Regions from separate parts of the Homo sapiens genome. Here regions 1 and 2 are each linked to region 3. Evidence: promoter capture Hi-C in 16 types of primary human blood cells and fetal thymus (Javierre and others, 2016). All regions are on one chromosome and are shown on one strand. Each heading gives the region's core, a stretch centred on a gene start or on the middle of the fragment in contact. The rest is flanking DNA. Distances are from core to core; before and after follow the strand shown.

Region 1 (2,700 bases), core at 89-2,588, 180 kb before region 3:
CTCACTGCAACCTCTGCCTCCCACGTTCAAGCAATTCTCCTGCCTCAGCCTCCTGGGTAGTTGGGATTAAAGGCACCTGCCACCACGCCCAGCTAATTTTTTATTTTTTTTAGTAGAGACAGGGTATCATCACGTTGGCCAGCCTGGTCTTGAACTCCCGACCTCAGATGATCCACCTGCCTTGGCCTTCTAAAATGCTGGGATTACAGGCATGAGCCACCGCGCCTGGCCAAATTTTTTTGTTTATTTTTGTAAAACATACCTAACATAAAATTTACCATTTTAACTATATTGAAGTGTACAGTTCAACGGCATTAAGTACATTTACATTGTTGTGCAACCATCACCCCATCTATCTCCAACTCTTCCAGTTTTGTCAACCAAAAATGTCTCTGGAAATTGCCAAATGTCCTCTGGAGGCAAAATTGCTCCAGTTGTTTACACCTTCTCCAAGGTGAATAAGAAGTCAAAAATGTCGATGTCATAAAAAAATAGAAAGAAAGTCTAAGAAGCTGCAATAAAGAAGAAATGACAATTCAACGCAACACATAATCCTGAACTGGTTCCTGTATAGAAAAAAAAAATTGCTATAAAGAACACTATTGGCAGGCTGGGTGCAGTGGTTCACACCTGTAATCCCAACACTTTGGGAAGCTGAGTCTAGCAGATTGCTTGAACCCAGGAGTTTAAGACCGGCCTGGGCAACATGATAAAACCCTGTCTCTATAAAAAATACAAAAATTAGTAAGCATGGCTGCCTGCGCGTAGTCTCAGCTATTCAGGAGGCTGAGGTAAGAGGATCAACTGAGCCCAGGAAGGTCGAGGCTGCAGTGAGCTGTGATTGCACCACTGCACACCAGCCTGGATGACAGAGCAAGACCCTGCTCAGAAAAAACAAACAAACAAAACAACAACAACAACAACACAAAAAGAACACTACTGGAAATTAACAAATTGGAATATGCAGTAGAGATTAAAGTATTGTATCAGTAATGAATTTCCTGATTTGACAACTCTGCTGGGTTATGCAAGAGAATTTCCACGTCTTAGTATGAAGTATTAAAAGGTAGAGGGAGGCCGGGTGCGGTGGCTCATGCCTGTAATCTCAACACTTTGGGAGGCTGAGGTGGGCGGATCACCTGAGATCAGGAGTTCGAGACCAGCCTGACCAACATGGTGAAACCCCGTCTCTACTAAAAATACAAAAAAATTAGCCGGGTGTGGTGGCGGGTGCCTATAATCCCAGTTACTCGGGAGACTGAGGCAGGAGAATCGCTTGAACCTGGGAGGTGGAGGTTGCAGTGAGTTGAGATCACGCCATTGCACTCCAGCCTGGGCAACAAGAGTGAAACTCTGTCTCAAAAAAAAAAAAAAAAAAAAAAGAGGGAAATGAATATACACCTGCTCTGAAATGAAATGGTTGGGGCCAAATTGTGTGTGTGTGTGTGTGTGTGTGTGTGCGCACACGCAATTGTCTCAAAAGCCTCTTGAGTCTTTCCCTTATATCTCTGACAATCCCACTGCTCCAAAGTACACTGTGGGTTTTCCTCAACTTGGAGCTAGATACCTGGAATTCTAGAAAACAATTCCCTCAGTAGACAATTGCTCCCTTATATGAGCACAAGCAGCGGAGTGACTACATGGATCAAGCTGTATTTCACCATTTTTTTTTTTTGCTCTGTTGCTTTATGTACCACACCAGCCCCACACAACTCTTCACCAAAGAGTTGTGGAATTATTGCATAAGAGAAAAAAATCTTAACTATATGACAACTGCTATGTCACACAGACTGCTAGTGGCTTACCCACTACTTCTTACCAACATTATTTTTAGAGGTGACAATATAACCAGCAAAAACACTGCACCTCCCAGCCACTTTTACAGCCAGGGATGGCCACATGACCAAATTACGGCTTATGAGACGTATGTGGAAGATGCTGGGAAGGACTTCTGGGAAAGCTGCTTTAAAGAGTTTCCAGTCCGGTACTGTGGCTCACACCTGTAATCTCAGTACTTTGGGACGCCGAGGCGGGTGGATCACCTGAGGTTAGGAGTTCTAGACTGGCCTGGTCGACATGGTGAAATCCTGTTTCTACTAAAAATACAAAAAATTAGCTTGGTGTGGTGGTGTGCGCCTGTAATCCCAGCTACTTGGGAGGCTGAGGCAGGAGAATCCATCTAAGAGAGAGAGAGAGAGAAAGGGAGGGAGGAAGAAAGGAAGAAGGAAAAGAAGAAGGAAAGAAGGAAGGAAAGAAAAGAAAGAGAAAGAAAGAAGGAAGGAAGGAGAAAGAGAAAGAGAAAGAAAGAAAGAAAAGAAAAGAAAGAAACTTTTATTTCCAGGTGGGGTGTGGTGGCTCCTGCCTGTATTCCCAGCACTTTGTGAGCCCAAGCCGGATAGATGGCTTGAGTCCAGGAGTTTGAGACTGCCTGGCCAACGCGAAACCCTGTCTCTACAAAAAAATACAAAAATTAGCCAGGCGCGGTGGCGCATGCCTGTAATCACAACTACTCAGGAGGCTGAGGATTGCTTGAACCCAGGAGGTCAAGCCTGCAGTGAGCTGTGATCACGCCACTGCACTCCAGCTTGGGCAACTCCCCAACACCCACCCTCCACAAAAAAAAAAAAAAAAAAAAGAAAAAGAGTTCTTAGCCATTTTGTAATCTTAAGAATGATGAAAGCCATATGCTTATGTAATGGA
Region 2 (2,700 bases), core at 95-2,594, 140 kb before region 3:
ATTGTATATATTCATGATATACAACATGTTTTGTAATATACATTGTGCAGTGACTAAATCAAGCTAATTAACATATGCATTGTCACTTATCATTTTTTCTGGTGATAACACTTAAAAAAAAATATATATATATATATATATATATTTTTTTTTTTTTAAGAGAAAGGGTCTCGTCCTGTTGCCCAGGCTGTATTGCAGTGGTGCAATCATAGCTCACTGCAGCCTTGAACTCCTGGGCTCAAGTGATCCTCCCACCTCAGCCTCCTGAGTAGCTAGGCCTATAGGGTGCATGCCACCATGCCCAGCTAATTTTAAAAACTGAAGTATATAGTCACCATGTTAAACAATTGATCTCTCGAACTTATTTCTGCTAACTGAAATTTTGTATCCTTGACCAAAATCTCCTCAGTTTCACCCCCAGCCCCTGGTAACCACAATTATACTCTCAGCTTCTATGATTTCAGCTTTCTTAGATTCTGCGTGTAAGTGGGATCATGCAGCATTTGACTTTCTGCGCCTGGCTTATTTTGCTTAACGCAGTGTCCTCCGGGTTTATCCATGTTGTCTCATGACAGGATTTCCTTCTTTTTAAAGACTGAGTAATATTCCATTGTACATGTATACCACATTTTGTTTATCCATTCATCCACTGAGGGACATTTTGATTGGTTTCATATTTTGGCTATTGTGAATAATTCTGCAATGAACATGGGAATGCAGATGTCTTTTCAACATACTGACTCCATTTCCTCTGGATATATACCCAGTAGAAAGATTGCTGGATCATATGGTAGTTGTATTTTTAATATTTTTAGAAACTTCCATACTGTTTTCCATAATGACTGTACTAATTTACATTCCCACCAACTGTGTACAAGGGTTTCTTTTTTTCCTTTTTTGATAATAGCTATTCTAACAGATGTGAGGTCATATTTCCTTGTGGTTTTAATTTGTAGTGTCTTGATGATTAGTGATGTTAAACACGTTTTTATATACCTGTTGGCTGTTGAATACCTGGGACTATAGGCACACGCTACCACACCTGGCTATTTTTTTATTTTTGTAAAGTCGCAGTTTCTCTGTATTGCCCAGGTTGGTCTCGAACTGCTGAGCTTAAGTGATCCTCCTGCCTTGGCCTCCCAGAATGCTGGGATTACAGGTGTGGGCTACTGCTCCTGGCTGTGTCTTCAATTTCCGTCTTCAGTGTTTTGTAATTTTTGATGTACCCTTCTTGGTTAAATTTATTTCTGAGTATTTTTTTTTTGTAGCTATTGTAAATGAAATTTTCTTTCTTTTTTTTTTTTTTCTTGAGACGGAGTTTCGCTGTTGTTGCCTAGGCTGGAGTGCAATGGCATGATCTCGGCTCACTGCAACCTCCGCCTCCCAGGTTCAAAAGATTCTCCTGCCTCAGCCTCCCGAGTAGATGGGATTACAGGCATGTGTCACCACACCCAGCTAATTTTGTATTTTTAGTAGAGACGGAATTTCTCCATGTTGGTCAGGCTGGTCTTGAACTCCCGACCTCAGGTGATCTGCCCGCCTTGGCCTCCCAAAGTACTGGGATTACAGGCGTGAGCCACTGTGCCCGGCCCATAAATGAAATTTTCTTAATTTCTTTTTGACATTTCAAGCATATTGAGTCTTTTATGAAACAATATCTCAATTTTTTTTTTTTTTTGGAGACAGTCTCACTCTGTTGCCCAGGCTGGAGAGCAGTAGTGGGATGTCAGCTCACTGCAACCTCTGCCTCCCAGGTTCAAGTGATTCTCCTGCCCTAGCTTCCTGAGTAGCTGAGACTACAGGTGTGTGCTACCATGCCCAGCTAAGTTTTATATTTTTAGTCACGATGGGGTTTCACCATATTGGCCAAGCTGGTCTTGAACTCCTGACCTCAAGTGATCTGCCCACCTTGGCCTCCCAGAGTGCTGGGATTATAGGTGTGAGCCACTGCACCCAGCTTTCAAATTCTTTTATGTCGTCTTTAATTTCTTTCAATGTTGTTTTGTTGTTTTCAGTGTACAGGTTTTGCACATGTATGCCATTTTTCTTGCTAATGTAAATGGTGTTTTATTGTCAATATATAGAAATACTTTGCATATTGATCTTGTGTTTTGTGATATTGCTATAAAAACTTACTTATTACCTTTTTTTGGGTAAATTTCTTAGGATTTTTAATGTACATGATCATGTCATCTGAGAATGTAGTTTTATTCTTTTCTAATCTGGGTGACCTTTATTTCTTTTTCTGACTTCTATGTATCTTTGCCTTACTGCTGCTCCTTACGGGAAAACAGGCAGTTTTTCTTAGCTGTAGGTTTTTCTTAGATGCCCTTTTTTAAGTTGGAAACATTTCTTATTTCTTGTTTGTTGTTCTTTGGTAACATTAATGGGTGTTGGATTTGTATCTTTCAAGGAATTTTTGTATTTCAACTAAGTTGTTGGGATTTATGCATGTAAAGTTGTTCATAATGGATTTGTTTGTTTGTTTTTTGTTGTTTTTGAGTCTAGCTCTGTCACCCAGGCTGGAGTGCAGTGGCGCGATCTTGGCTCACTGCAACCTCCGACTCACGGGTTCAAGCGATTCTCCTGCCTCTCCTGAGTAGCTGGGATTATAGGCGCACACCACCATGCCCGGCTAATTTTTGTATTTTTAGTAGAGACAAGGTTTCACCATGTTGGTCAGGCTGGTCTCAAACTCCT
Region 3 (2,700 bases), core at 100-2,599:
CACACTGCCCTCTTCACACTCATTTGTCAATGCCCAGCTGCAGGACACATCTATCTCTATCTCTATCTGTCTGTCTGTCTGTCTGTCTGTCTATCTATCTATCTATCTATCTATCTATCTATCTATCTATCTATCTATCTATCTGTCTATGGAGTCTCACTCTGTCGCCCAGTCCGGAGTGCAGTGGTGCGAGCTCGGCTCACTTCAACCTCCGCCTCCTGGGTTCAAGCAATTCTCTCGCCTCAGCTTTCCGAGTAGCTGGGATTACAGGTGCCTGCCACCGTGCCCACCTAATTTTTTTTTTTTCAGTAGAGACGGGGTTTCACCAAGTTGGCCAGGCTGGTATCGAGCTCCTGACCTCAAGTGATCCACCCGCCTCGACCTCCCAAAGTGTTGGGATTACAGGCGTGAGCCACCGCACCGGGCCAGGACATGTCTTCTATTGCCTGATTCCTGCAGCAACTCCGGGCTGGACTCTTTGCCTTCCACATCCCAACCCAACCCCAATCCCAATTCCACAGAACAGACAGAGATGTGTCAGTGATGAAGTCATTCACTGCTTGAAACTGTGACAGCTTCCCGGCGACCTCCATCACTTGGGTTAGGAGGGCTAACTTCCCTCTGCAGCTCAACGCCCCTCTCCAACCCTCTGCTCTCACTCTAGGTCCCCATTCCCCATTTCTACAACAAACTCCCGCTTAGATTCCTCCCCAACGTCCTTCTCATCCTTGGGTCTTGGTTTACTCCTTCCCTTGGGATGAGTACGGCTGTGATGGAGGTAGGGGCTGGCATCAGCGCGTCCCAAGCCGGGTGTCCTCAGAGCAGCGGGGACTGATGCCAGCCCCTCCCTCCATCACAGCCCTACTCTCTCTCACTCCCGGTGACCAGGTGTCACCTGGTCAAGTGTGTCGCCCCTGGGTGGCCTGGGTCTGCGTCTTCCGACCTCTCATCTGGGCCTTGCGCTGTGGTCACCTCATCCAGCTCCCTTTCACGTCCTGGAAGATTTCCGCCCCTTGCTCCCCTCACCCCTCTCCCCGGGGGTGCCTCCCTGAGCCCTCGAGTGGCTTGAATCCTCCGCAACATTTCCTCCCCAGCACTCTCCGGGGCTCTGCGTCCAGCTGTGTCATTATCCGATGAGTGTCTGTCCCCCTTTGCGAATGTGAGCGGCGAGAGGGCAGCAAGTGCGGAGCCAGAGACGGACGCGGAACGGGCGTGTCCTAAGCCCAGGCCCCGACAAGAGGAAGGACCCGCGCTCTGCGGCCTCCCGGGGACCCCGCAGCGCCCCCCGCTTCCCTCGGCGGCGCCGGAAGCCGCCGGCTGGTCCCCTCCCCGCGGCGCCTGTAGCCTTATCTCTGCACCCTGAGGGCCCCGGGAGGAGGCGCGGGCGCGCCGGGAGGGACCGGCGGCGGCATGGGCCGGGGGCCCTGGGATGCGGGCCCGTCTCGCCGCCTGCTGCCGCTGTTGCTGCTGCTCGGCCTGGCCCGCGGCGCCGCGGGAGCGCCGGGCCCCGACGGTGAGTGCGGGCTGGGACGGGCACGGGCGGCCGGCGGGGCCCCCGGCTGGGCCTCGAGGACTCTGGGCGCACGGACGCTTCCCCGCCCCTGGGCCGGGCCGGCGCGGTGCCGAGGCGTGGGGCGCAGGTGGGGCCCGCGCCGGCCGTTGGAGATCGGCAAGGAGGAGCTCAGAGAAGCGGGGGGCTCCCCGCCGGGCTTCCCTGCCCCCGCCCGACCCCGCGACGCCGGGGGACGCCGGTTTTAAGGCGGCCTGGCCGGGCCCCCAGGGACCTCCACTGCCCAGGAGGCGGGGTGGGGGCTGGGCGCGAGCGCGGACCCGGGCAGGGCGGCGCCCGGGGAAGGGCGGGGAGGCCAGGGCGTTCTGCGGCGCTGTCACGCTTCCGGCTCTGCGGTGGCTTTTGCATGACACATTTTTGACCCGAAGCAATTTTCTTACCACTTTTAATTTTTTCACGTTGTTAGAGAGCCGGATGCTAAATATGGTGAGAAAGACGCGTAAGGAAGAGTACAGGAGTGAAGCCATTAATTCACTCATTCATTCAACAGATGGCCCTTGAACAGCTTCCCTGTGCGCGATGAGGGCGGGCAGTGCGGGCCCTCGTGGAGCTCATTGTCTGGAGGATTTAGACCAGCAAATGTTCTATTTCCAAGCAATCGAGGGAGTTGTTTTTCCTCCTCTGCAAAATGCAGTGTTGAGCTGAGTAGGAATTACACAGAGGATTCAGACACGCAGGGGAGGTGACATTCATCCACATAACTGTAATACAAGGCAGAATGGCATGGGTGCCATGAGAAGGTGTGGGTGGTGAGGGCAGGGAAAGGGGAATCGGTGGTGACCCTTGAGCTGGGCCATCAATGATTGGTCATATTTGGATATGGGAAAATGTGAAAAAGGTATCCCAGCTCATAGCAGAAGGCACTGTCACCTCTCCACAAATGAGTGTAGAATGAATGAATTCCTTCAGAATTCAGGCCCGGGGGAGAAGGGAAGGAAGCACACGGAGGCACCAGAGGCAGAGGGCAGAGTGCCTTGATTGGCAGACCTAGGCCTTTGGACTTAGCTGTGCCTGGAAGCCACTGGAAGCCGTCTCAGGGAGTGACAAGAAAAGTGGGTCTAGCCAGTTCTAGGCGCTTCGGGAGCCACAGGTTACAGTGCAGACATGGCCAAATCCAAGCACCACACCAC

The links. The method cuts DNA at HindIII sites, captures the fragments that hold promoters and counts their contacts. A CHiCAGO score of 5 or more calls a contact.
Region 1: a fragment that was not itself captured here is called in contact with the fragment with the promoter of SUSD1 in region 3 in 11 of 17 cell types (erythroblasts, endothelial precursors, non-activated CD4 T cells and 8 more); the score reaches 7.1 in erythroblasts.
Region 2: a fragment that was not itself captured here is called in contact with the fragment with the promoter of SUSD1 in region 3 in 1 of 17 cell types (megakaryocytes); the score reaches 9.7 in megakaryocytes.

What each region holds. Positions count from the first base shown.
Region 1 is chr9:112,355,557-112,358,256 of GRCh38, reverse strand. It overlaps a transcript of PTBP3 not described here. Among named protein-coding and RNA genes, the nearest start is that of HSDL2, 23 kb to the left of the region's middle. The HindIII fragment of the contact is 4,467 bases long and covers 1-2,700 here.
Region 2 is chr9:112,317,737-112,320,436 of GRCh38, reverse strand. All of the region lies in intron 1 of PTBP3 (polypyrimidine tract binding protein 3), which reads left to right. Among named protein-coding and RNA genes, the nearest start is that of PTBP3, 15 kb to the left of the region's middle. The HindIII fragment of the contact is 7,603 bases long and covers 1-2,700 here.
Region 3 is chr9:112,173,946-112,176,645 of GRCh38, reverse strand. It overlaps SUSD1 (sushi domain containing 1), which reads left to right and starts at 1,349. Exons shown (of 17, transcript NM_022486.5): 1 at 1,349-1,513. The coding sequence starts at 1,411. It also overlaps the pseudogene RPL29P20. RefSeq lists a silencer at 1,231-1,890. The HindIII fragment of the contact is 4,774 bases long and covers 1-2,700 here.